4 separate regions of the Homo sapiens genome follow, and regions 2, 3 and 4 are each linked to region 1. Evidence: promoter capture Hi-C in human tissues and cell types (Jung and others, 2019). All regions are on one chromosome and are shown on one strand. Each heading gives the region's core, a stretch centred on a gene start or on the middle of the fragment in contact. The rest is flanking DNA. Distances are from core to core; before and after follow the strand shown. Region 1 holds the start of TBX10 (T-box transcription factor 10). Region 2 has its middle 24 kb from the start of ALDH3B2. Region 3 has its middle 10 kb from the start of GSTP1. Region 4 holds the start of ALDH3B2 (aldehyde dehydrogenase 3 family member B2).

What was found. The method cuts DNA at HindIII sites, captures the fragments that hold promoters and counts their contacts. A contact is called where the count stands out against the background at its distance.
Region 2: a fragment that was not itself captured here is called in contact with the fragment with the promoter of TBX10 in region 1 in 2 of the 25 tissues and cell types used here (H1 embryonic stem cells and thymus).
Region 3: a fragment that was not itself captured here is called in contact with the fragment with the promoter of TBX10 in region 1 in 1 of the 25 tissues and cell types used here (spleen).
Region 4: the fragment with the promoter of ALDH3B2 here is called in contact with the fragment with the promoter of TBX10 in region 1 in 1 of the 25 tissues and cell types used here (liver).

Annotation. Positions count from the first base shown.
Region 1 is chr11:67,638,292-67,641,174 of GRCh38, forward strand. TBX10 (T-box transcription factor 10) reads right to left here and starts at 1,472. Exons shown (of 8, transcript NM_005995.5): 1 at 1,175-1,472. The coding sequence starts at 1,181. The HindIII fragment of the contact is 9,108 bases long and covers 851-2,883 here.
Region 2 is chr11:67,697,313-67,700,195 of GRCh38, forward strand. No RefSeq gene overlaps it. Among named protein-coding and RNA genes, the nearest start is that of ALDH3B2, 24 kb to the left of the region's middle. The HindIII fragment of the contact is 5,827 bases long and covers 1-2,883 here.
Region 3 is chr11:67,592,441-67,595,323 of GRCh38, forward strand. No RefSeq gene overlaps it. Among named protein-coding and RNA genes, the nearest start is that of GSTP1, 10 kb to the left of the region's middle. The HindIII fragment of the contact is 3,217 bases long and covers 1-2,883 here.
Region 4 is chr11:67,673,190-67,676,072 of GRCh38, forward strand. ALDH3B2 (aldehyde dehydrogenase 3 family member B2) reads right to left here and starts at 1,434. Exons shown (of 10, transcript NM_001393402.2): 1 at 1,247-1,434. The HindIII fragment of the contact is 24,145 bases long and covers 1-2,883 here.

The DNA of each region.
Region 1 (2,883 bases), core at 222-2,721:
TAAAATGTTTTAAATGGAAAAAAATCCTGAGAAACAGAACTATTATTTTATAGCAGCCCCATAAGGGGCTGAGAAGCTGGAAGGGCCATGGAAGCCACAGTGGCTGGGAGTCAGGGGACAAGGTTTTATTCCCAGCTGTGTCCCCACCCGAGTGGCTTTGGGATATTTACACGACTGTAAGACTATGGGATGCCTGGAGCAGAGGGGGGTGCTGGGTGTTGGAGAGATGGATGAACTGGCAGACAGGCGGGTGACGGAGGCCCCCAGGTGGCATAGCATCTGCTGAGGTACCAGGTGGACGGCACCTGGCCAGGGTGAGCTCTTAGTAGGTGCCTGGGGAGAATGTGGAGCCCAGGGCCATGGCCACGTCCTCAGCAGCCCTGAGAGCTGCGTGCAAAGGCCCTGGGATTTCTGCAGCCTCGCGGGGGAGGGGGCGTCTTTGTGACAGGGATGGGTCACATCAGGTTTGAGGACCCTGGGCAGGATGGATAGATGGGCTGATGTCCCCCTGCCCCTGTGGCCAGTCCATCAGAAGGGTAGCTGGTTGTCGCCCGGCTGCCCTGCTGGGGCGGGTACGTCATCCAGGTGATGCCAGCCCCCCTGGGTCCATGGCAATGGGTCCCAAGGTGGGGGGGCTCATGATTTCACTGGGCCTGGAGGCTTTGCCGGTGGTCACTGGCTCCCAAGTCCTCTAGGGGCTCACCCGCTGCCCGTCGCAGCCAATGTGCTGCCCCTCAACACTTTCAGGGACTCTGGTGGGGGGAGCCTGTCCTTTGCTCAGTCCCTCTAGAAGCCAGCATTCCTCAGGGCCCAGAGATGACAGCTTGCCAGAAGCATCGAGTGTCAAGTCTGGAAGGGAAGCTAAGGGCTTCTTGTCCAGCCCCAACTTTGATGCTCAAGGAGCTGGGGCTCAGGGAGAGGCCCGAGGTCACACGTGCCCAGTGAGGCGCTCATCTCCCGGAACAGCCTGGTCCCTGGCATCTCCCATAATTGCACTTGGGCAGCCGTGAGCCCTGTCCCGTTGGGATCTCAGACCTTAGCCTGGGGTGCCCCTGCCCCACCCTCTTGTGAAGGACCTGGGTTCAGCGGGGCTGTCTTGGTTCCCACCCTGCCCACCCACCCTGGAACCTGAGCCTGACCCATGAGGCCACCTCTGCTTCAGAACGTAGCCTACCTGCCATGGAGACAGAGAGGCTGTCCGGCTCCTGGAGAAACACTGCTTGGCTGGGGCTGGGAACCTGCCTGCTGGAAGGGGTGGTCACCACTCGTCCACTCGGCACCTCAGCTCAGCCCTCAGGTGCTCACACAAGCTGTAGTCTCTCGGCAGGACGGTCCTTGCCTCCTCGATCGCCCTTCGTCCACGTCCTGAGGTCGTGGTCTTCCTACTCGAGCTGGACCCCTGGTCTCCGAAGGTGAGATGCAGGCTCTGGGGCGTGCAGCGGCCCTTCTCCAAGCCACTCTCGGGCTGTGCTGTCCAAGGCTGTGCGGGAGGAGGGCAGGTGGGAAGGTTCTGACGTTGCAGAGCCCCCCTTCCTCCCTCCTTGTCCTCCCTCTTCAAGTTCCTCCCTTCCCCAGCTAAGAGCCCCCCAGCCATTCCTGATCGATGGGCCCAGGCGTGGCAGGGGTGAGGGGGTGGGAGAGTGGTTCTTGAGGACGGCTGGGCATCTGCAGGGGTCCAGGCCTGGCTGACTGGAGGGGCTGGGGCCCCGGGGGTTGGGAGGCACAGTGGGAGCAGCAGATTGCGGGCTGAATGGCGGAGGAGGTGCCCTCCCACCAAGACCCAGACCCCTGACCTGAGGCTGGCCCCAGCCGGCCGGCAGATGCGCAATTGTCAGGAGCAGTGTGAGCAGGAAACGCAAGGGGGCAGCAGCAACGAGTGCAGTCAGCATAGAGCCCCAGACTGGATGGCGGGAAGCCCAGGTCCTGTGGCACGTGAACCCACACGCACAGACACATGGATGAACTCAGGGAGCTGCGCAACGCTGGCAGGTCCCACAGTCTCCGTGCCTCAGCCTCCCCAGTTAACCTAAGCACATAATCTCTTCCGCCTGTGATGGTCTAGCCCAGCCTGGAGAGCGGTAAGCCCATCCCGCCTGGAACTGGGGGCACTGCCCTGGCTGATGGTGTCCACGGAATCCCCATCTGGACATGAGTGGAAACGGTGAGGCTGGCCCAGGTGAGAAGTGGGCGTCCGCTCTGCCTGTGGGTCTGTCTGTTCTCTCTGGCCTGACCGGGCACCCTCTCCAGGTTGTCTACAGCCTGTGCTGGGCATTCAGGGGACACATGGATCACTCTGCAGGGAGGCAGAACCTGGAGGTCCCCCTGAGAGGCTGCCAGTTCCTTGGTTGAGAGTGCTCGCTGGCCTTTTGACTCTTGCTGAATGGCACAGAGTGGGTCGTCTGGCTGGAGCCCCCCATACCTCCTCCAGAATCCTGTCTTGGGGATGCTGGGTTGGCAGTGGCCTTGATTCCTAAGAGGGGGCATGGAGGGGCTGGGGGGCGGCAGGGCTGCTTCTCCCTGAGCGCTATGTTCTGGGCGCAGCTGCAGCTCAGGGATGCCTGTGGCTCAATCCCTTGTGTCTCACATCTCAGCCTGCAGAGCTGGATGGGACCCCACACAAAGACGGTGGGCTGGCTCTGGGGGATGTAAAAGGAGGAGGGCCGGCCCCTGGCCCAACCCCATGCCCGGCTGTGTGAGAAAAGGCTGCCAGCACTTTGGAGTTGCTGCCAGGCAAGATGGGAGTGCTCTGTGTGAGTTGGAGGGTCCCAGCAGCCCCTTGAGGCTATACAACAAGGTGTAGTCATCTGCCCTGGCCATGGCATGGTGGGTGGGAAGTGGGGAGATGATGGAGGGAGTTGGGGGATCCATTCCAGTACTGGTGGC
Region 2 (2,883 bases), core at 267-2,766, 59 kb after region 1:
ATGATGGGGAAAGGGGGCTGAGGAGCCAGACATAAAGTGAATCCTGACCCCAGACTGGACCCTAGTAGTTGGTAGCATCATTCATTGGAGGGAATGGTTATATGTCTCAGCCAGAAGCTGGCCCCACATTTCCCAAACGCTGCACGTAAAAAGGCAAGAACTCCCCGCGGGGGCCACTGTTTGAACAAGAATTTATGTGGTGTTCAGAGCCCCAGGATTCCCATGGCAGAGGTTCCTCAGGGCTCGGCAAGCAGGTACATTACTGCTGCTGTCCTCACTGCCGTGACATGGTCATGCACACTGAGACTCCCTGGAGAAAAAAATTAAATAAACCCCCCCCCTAAAATATCCCTAATTACAAAAGGTGAAGATAAAATGACTCAGGTCAAGGAAAAAAATTGTCCTAACTGTCATCCAAAAGACCACCAGGACGGCTACACAGTCGAAAGAGGAGCTTTACTGGCAAACTGGGAGGAGAGACTCATCTCAAACAAACAAAAAAGGAAATGTAATTGCCATTGTAACAATGTCGTGGAGGGGACCCTCCATAGGCGATTAGGTCATGAAGGCTCTGCCCCCATGAATTAATTAATCCTGTTATGGCAGGAGTAGGTTAGTGATCACGAGACTGGGTGTGTTATAAAAGTGAGGTCGGCCTGATTTCCTCCCTGTCTCACATGCTTGCTTCTGCCTTACACCCTTCTGCCACAAGATGACCCTTGCCCAAAGCCAGCACCATGCTCTTGGACTTCCCAGCCTCCAAAACTGGGAGAAATAAATTTCTTTTATCAGTTGTCCAATTTGTGGTGTTAATTTGCAGACTAAGACAGGCTTTCTAATAACGTTTGTTGGGGCTACTTGGATTTTTGAGGCAACATATTCCCACTTACACATTTCATGAAAACCTCTTTATTCAATTTCTCCTAAGTCTGCTCATTATAAACAGCCACTTCACACAAGCCCTCCAGGCTGTGTAGGGAACGGCTCCACCATGGCACCCTGGTGGCCCTGAACATATCCACACAGGCTACAGAGGCGAAAGCTCAAACTGAGGCTCATCTGAGTCATGACAGGACACTTTGTGATCCTCCAGAGAGTGGGAGGCCTGTAGGAGCTGCTACCACTCCCGTTGGCTCCCTGTCTCCCCCAGGAGGCTGTCATGAGAAGGTTCTGCATGGCCTTCGGGTTCTGATGAGGCCTGCCACTGTCTGTCCTGCCCTCTTCTGAACAGAGTTGCTGTTGCAGGAAATCAGGGACCCTGAACGGAGTGACCAGCTGGAGCCGTGCCATAGGAACATAAATTGTGAAGATTTCATTTTAATATGGACATTTATCAGTTCCCAAATAATACTTTTATAATTTCTTATGCCTGTCTTTACTTTAATCTCTTAATCCTGTTATCTTCATAAGCTAGGATGTACATCACCTCAGGACCACTGTGATAATTGTGTTAACTGTACAAATTGATTGTAAAACATGTGTGTTTGAACAATATGAAATCAGTGCACCTTGAAAAAGAACAGAATAACAGTGATTTTTAGGGAACAAGGGAAGACAACCATAAGGTCTGACTGCCTGTGGGGTCAGGCAAAAAGAGCCATATTTTCTTCTTGCAGAGAGCCTATAAACGGACATGCAAGTAGGAAACATATTGCTAAATTCTTTTCCTAGCAAGGAATATTAAGATTAATATCCTGGGAAAGGAATGCATTCCTTGGGGGAGGTCTATAATAACCGCTCTGGGAATGTCTGTCTTGTGCAGTTGAGATAAGGACTGAGATATGCTCTGGTCTCCTGCAGTACCCTCAGGCTTACCAGGGTGGGGAAAAACTCTGCCCTGGTAAATTTGTGGTCAGACTGGTTCTCTGCTCTTGAACCCTCTTTTCTGTTGTTTAAGATGTCTATCAAGACAATATATGCACTGCTGAACATAGACCCTTATCAGTAGTTCTGCTTTTGCCCTTTGCCTTGTGATCTTTGTTAGACCCTTATTAGTGGTTCTGCTTTTTGCCCTTTGAAGCATGTGATCTTTGTACTTACTCCCTGTTCTCACACCCCCTCCCCTTTTGAAACCCTTAAGAAAAACTTGCTGGTTTTGAGGATCAGGCAGGCCTCATGGTCCTACTGATATGTGATGTCACCCCGGCAGCCTAGCTGTAAAATTCCTCTCTTTATACTGTCTCTCTATTTCTCAGCCAGCCGACACTTATGGAAAATAGAAAGAACCTACATTGAAATATTGGGGGTGGGTTCCCCCAATATCTGGCACACCAACGTGGTTTTCTTTTTCCTAAGTGCATGTGGGAACCCGATTCCCTTTGGTAGGTATGTAGAAACGTTCATCGGTCCGGTCCACAGAAACCCTTGTTCGGCTCCCTGACAACTGGTGAGTTGTCTGTGTATTGTCCGGGGTAACTATGAGTCATGCAGAATCTAAACATTATGCTTATCTCTGCTATATTAAACTCCTGTTAAAACAGGGAGGAGTTTGGGTACCCATGGAAAATATGGTCACCCATTTCAGGGCGGTGGAAGAACACTGTCCTTGGTTTCCTCAAAAGGGAACGTTAGATGTGGAACTTTGGGATTGTGTTGGTGCAAAATTCCGGGAACCGGTCCCAACAGGAAATTATGCTCCCGTCACTGTTTGGGGTGATTGGGCCTTGGTACGTGCCATCCTAATGACATACCAATCCTGTGACCCCCTGCAGTTACCACAGTTTTCTGAATCTGGAGACCCTCTACCTCTTCCTCAGCTTTCCTCTCCCACTCGGCCTTTGTTATCTGCTCAGCTTCTCCCTTCACCTACTCCTCCCCAACCTGAGAATGTTGAGGATTCAATATCTAACTCCGGTGACTTTGGCTTAATGTCACCCCCTGATG
Region 3 (2,883 bases), core at 212-2,711, 46 kb before region 1:
CGAGGCAGACGGATCACCTGAGGCCGGGAGTTCGATACCAGCCTGGCCAACATGGCGAAACCCGTCTCTACTAAAAAGTACAAAAATTAGCTGGGCATGGTGGTGGGTGCCTGTAATCCCAGCTACTCAGGAGGCTGAGGCAGGAGAATTGCTTGAACCTGGGAGGCGGAGGTTGCAGTGAGCTGAGATCGCGCCACTGCCCTCTAGCCTGAGCGACAAGAGGGAGACTGTCTCAAAAAAAAAAAAAGTTTCTATAAGCTTTGCCAATTTGATTTTTATTATTTGTGCATTTCACAAGTCTGGAAGACTGAGGGTGGTATGGACAATGGAAATGTTGAAAAATCAGCCATACGTTACAAATAAACTGAATTATTTGACCAGTGAAATGGGTTCATTAGTTTCCATGAAGATTGGAGGGAGCTCTCCAAGAAGGAATAGGGCAAGATTTAAAGTAGTCATGGTCAAAGATGCAATCAACAAAGAAATTTGGTCATTTTATTTTTTTGTGGCCTACTGAAACGGGAAGGGTTCCCTTGTCCCCCTTGCAGGGCATGTGATGGGGGAGTGGCTCGCTTCTTCAGTGCCCCGCTGCTCAGACCTGCAGGGGAGCATACAGATGGGCAGGTTGTGGGGCTCCAACCCACGGCAGCATCTAGGGGTGGATGTTTACAGCTCCTGAAGCCCTAGTGGGCATGTGTTACAGGGTGCTCTTTTAGTTTTGCCATCTATAGGCAGCTTGTGTTAACCAGCAGCTCAATTAGACCCTCTGCTTTGTTACAAGGACAGAGGGATTTCTGTATCCCAGGTTCTTGCCTTGGTGTACTGGAAGAATAGGATCACACCTGGGCTTGGAGAATGAGTGCAAGGTTTTATTGAGTGGAGGTAACTCTCAGCAGTTGGAGGAAGCCAGAAGGGCATGGAGTGGGAAGGTTTTGCCCTGGAGTCAGGCTGCTCAGCGGCCTGGGCTTGCCTTTGACTGCCCGGCCAAACTCCGCCTCGTTCTGCAGGTGGATGGCCTGCCGGCATGCTGGCGTCTGTCGTGTGCTCTTCCACCAGCCTGCTCCCTTCTGTGGCAGATTGGTCAGAGAGGTGGGAAGAACTATAGGGAAAGGACGCAAACCTTCTGAAAGGTGGGAAGGTTCTGCAGAGCCCTGGGGGAGAAGAACTGAAGGCAGCTCTTCTATAACCCTGAGGCAGAGGGCAAGGAGTAGGTACAAGGGAGTATGGGGGATTTTATCTTAAATAGGCATGTTTACTTATGTCGACCAGGAACTGACCTTAGATCATCTATGATCACCTATGATCATGTTTCAGGGAACATGAGGTTCCCTGAAAGGGGAATAATAAATATTAATGACTTACAGATTGTGTCGGCTCCAGGTTTTCGACATTGTGCCTGCACTGAATAAAAGCAAAGCAGCTCCAGCTTCTTCCACTAGAGCCAGGCAGTCACCTAGCTGCTCTTAACACTGCATACCTGTGTCTGGGTACTCATTTCCTCTGTTGGCCAGGGTCTGTGGGACAGAGCTGGCACCCCTCAATGACCTCTCAACGTCCAGCCACTTGTGTCTTCTTCTGCCAATGTGTTCCTCTCCACGTCCAGCTGCTTGTGTGTCTGCTTGCTAGGGTCTCAGGGTTTTTATAGGCACAGGATATGGGTGTGGTGGGCCAGGGTGCTCTTTGGAAATGCAATATTTGGGCAGGAAAACAAAAATGCCTGTCTTCACCCAGGTCCATGGGCACAGGCCTGGGGGTGGAGCCCTAGCCAGGGACTACACATTCCTCTACCCAGCACTTCCCTGCCCCCCTTCCGTATCACTATAATTCAACACAATACTTACAATAATGACTGATAATATATACCAACACATATCAGATTTTTAGGAATCTCATATAATTTTGGAACACATATTAATAACACATTTCACAAATATAACTCAAAGAAAGTTAAATGTCATTTCTTTTTTGACAATGCTTGCTGTGTAATTTTTACATGCCAAATAATACCAAGTTCTCTTGAACTTACATGGGTTTTTTTTTTCTTTTTCAAATGTTGAAACGTTAGTTTGAGGTCAAAATGGCTTAATTTAGAATTTGAATTTTCATTTTTGGAAGTTTGTCAAATACCAAAGCTTTAAAACACTTGATATTAAAATAGAAAAGGTTTAAAAGACTTGTTCAAAATAGAATCATGGGGAACTTCAAAATAATAGTCATTCATTTAGCCAAAGTGATAACTGAAAGATTTCAGAAAAGCTGGGTGTGGTGACTCACATCTGTAATCCCAGCACTTTGGGAAGCCAAGGTGGGAGGATCACCTGAAGTCAGGAGTTCGAGACCAGTCTGGCCAACATGGTGAAACCCTGTCTCCCCTAAAAATACAAAATTAGTTGGGCATGGTGGCAGGTGCCTGTAATCCCCGCTACTCAAGAGGCTAAGGCAGGAGAATCGCTTGAACACGGGGGGTGGGGGGAAGGTTGCATTGAGCCAAGTTCGCACCATTGCACTGTAGCCTGGGCAAAAAGAGCGAAACTCCATCTAAAAAAAAAAAAGATTTCCGAAAGCAAAAACCTTTATTGTTTGATAGAGAGGAGACTCAGTTTTCTAAACAATCCAAAGACCTAATGAAGGAAGCATAAGGCAAACTCGCTCCTCTTTTTTTATTTTTTTCACTTTGCAGTTTGCTCAAAAGGCAAACAAAAATCTTTTACAATCTCTTATTACTACTACATGAAAATCTCGTTTAAAAGAGAAAACTAAATTCTACCTTTACATTAGTGTATTATTAATGCTACAGCTAAAAATATAGTTATAATAAAATCTTGCAAACAGATCCATCTAATCTCAATCACTTTTGACCACTACTCAAGATAAAGTTTCTAT
Region 4 (2,883 bases), core at 184-2,683, 35 kb after region 1:
AAAGTGCTGGGATTACAGGCAAAATAAACTTTATAAATTAACTGAGACCCGTCTCAGATTTTCTGGGTTTACACTGGGGACCTCTGGCTGCTCACCAGGCAGTTCCTGACTGGACCTGGGTCCCATAGGTGACCACCCCAGACTTGGCCAGCCCCCATGGAGCTCACAGTCTACACACGGAACAATGACACCGGAAACAATATCATTACAAACATGATCGGTGGGCCAGGGCTTCTTCCAGAGGTGGCCAGAGACCCACCCCTGGCTCTGACTGCTGCGGGGAAGCCGTAGGGGAGGGCCTCTTGGAGGGCAGGTGATCTGGACAGAGGGACCAACGTGTGCAAAAGCCCTGTGGGGGCAGATGCTGAGAAATAAGACACACAGGAAGGTGGAGGCCTGATGGGACCTGTCATATGGAGAGGGGACTCATTCCCTTGGCAGTGGCCATGCCTGGTGCAGGGCCCAGAAAGAAGTCAGAGCTGGCATCTGGGGCCAGGTAGCTGGCATGCACATCTCATCTGAGCCTCACAGCTATTATTATTACCCAGTTGGAAGGACAGGGAAACCGAGGCTCCCAGAGACGACTTGATTTGCCCTCCTCACAGCCTCAGTGCGAGGAGGGAGGCCCCCCAGCCCCTCTCCTCACACCAGCCTTGTGACACCATGTGCCAATGTGTGCCTCGTGCCTTTCACTGTCTTCTCAACATCTTCCTGCAGCTTCCAGACTTTCTAAATGCGAATGTAGTATTTCTAGAACCAGAAACAAGCAATGCATGTTGCTTTTAACATCTGAAACCAAAGATCCGACTTTCGCTTCAACTGCCAAGAATCTCTCTGCTTCCAATCCCCGATTCTCCGGCACCTCCTGATCACAGCCCTGGTGCCCCCGACCCAATCCTTGTCTGTCCACAGAGCTGCCTTCTCCTCTAACCTGGGAGCTCCTCAAAGGGAGGACGGGGTCTGTCCCCATCCCTGGGGCTCCTGGGGAACAGGCTTCATTTCTGTGGCTGCTTCCCAGGAGCCTGCCAAAGGGCAAAGTGAGGCTCAGAAGACACCAGCACCCACCTCCCTCTCCTGAGCAAGCCCCGTACCCATGGCCCCTGCAGCCATAGGCCCCTTGGTGGGCTTGCCCCCTGACCCACGGGCCATGGGCACACATCCCCTTCCCTCCATGCCCCTGGTTCCCACCAGTGTCCTTTACCCTGAGCTCCCTCTGCCCGCCCCTCACCCCTGTGGCCCCACATAACCCAGCGTGGGCTCTGCCCCTGGGTCCTTCGCTGCACCTCCACTCCCTTTCTTGGACATGCTGCCTCCAGATGCGCAGGCTCTGCTCCTACCCCCAGGCCTCAGCCCTGCTCTGCTGACTGCGATCCTCCCAGGAGACTGGCAGCTCCCAAACCAACTCCCGTGCCCACGCCTGGCAATGGGGTAATCAATGGGGTGATGCTCAGTGTTACCCAACAGGCGTGGGGCAGGGCTGCACCTCCCAATTCCCATGCCTACCCTTGTCTCACTGCCAGGACCTATAGCTGCTCGGTGTCTGCCCTGTTCTTCCAGGGCCCTGCCCCCAGGGACCACACTGCACAGCCGGCTTGGGAACAGGTTAGACAAGTCAAGGCTGTCTGAGGCTTTGCTCTGTGTTTCCTGGAATGGGCTAGCAGGGAGTTACCTGATCAGGAAAAAAGAACCCCAGGGGAAGGTCACAGGATGAAAATATCAGCAGGATCCTGGTGGCAAATGCTGCCTTCGCCAGGAAGTCCTCCCAGGCCCCAGCCACAGTGGTCCCATGCCCCCCATGGCCCCTCCTAGGGTCTCTATGCTAAATCTTCATCTCCCTCCTCTCCTGTCCTCACTCTTCAGGCTTCACAGGTCAAGATGAGCAACTGTGGCTCTATTTCCACTCTCAGTGTGCCCAGCTGGCATACTCAGGGCAGAGGAAGGGGCTCAGATCTTTGCAGAGAGACCCTTGATGGGCGACGGCACCTGTAGCTCTAGGATGGCGCATTGTTCATTGGTTTATTTATTTACTGTGCAACCGTGGGTAGGTTACTTAACGTCTCTGAGCCTTTCGGAAGTAACAATAACACCTAATTGCCATGGTTCTTGAGAGGGTCACAGAGGGAGACGTGAGAATGGAAAAGGCAGATCACAGCTCCTGGCACAAAATCAGTGCCCCTCAATGTTGCCCGCTAATGTTTCCACAAGTATTTGCTGAGCACCTTCTAGGTTCCAGGGAGCAGAATGAGCTCAGGTCCTGCCACTGTCCTTCATGGATGGCCTGACTCTGTCCCCACCCCACCTTCCCCCAAGCCTGAGACCAAGGACACGCCCTGCTGAGGGCTGTAGAGAGTCTCTTGGCAGAGTGTGCAGCCCTGTGGGCAGGAGGGACATCTGAGATAACCCTTGGTTGTGACTGGAGACAGCCCAGCGGAGGCCACAGCCTGAGACCAAGCCCTGGCCCTGGAATCTTCGGTAGCTAAAGATGTAAATGCCAATGTGACACCAGGAAGGGACCTCGGGATGGGGAAGGGAATACAGGGCAGAATGCTAAGGCCCATCTAAGAGCAGCAGATGGGTTATGGCCACTGGGGAGGCCCACTGCCTCCAAACCACTGAATTGTACACTGTAAATGGGTGAGTTGTATGGGATGTGAATGCTATCTCAATAAGCTGTTTTGTTTTGTTTTGTTAAACTGAACTGACAAGAAGCCTGAATAGACGTAAATAAATTAAAATATGCTCAACCTCAGTAGCAATTGTTAAAATGTAAAATAGGTCGGGTGCGGTGGCTCATGCCTGTAATCCCAGCACTTTGGGAGGCCGAAGCTGGTGGATCACTTGAGGTTAGGAGTTCCAGAACAGCCTGGCCAACATGGTGAAACC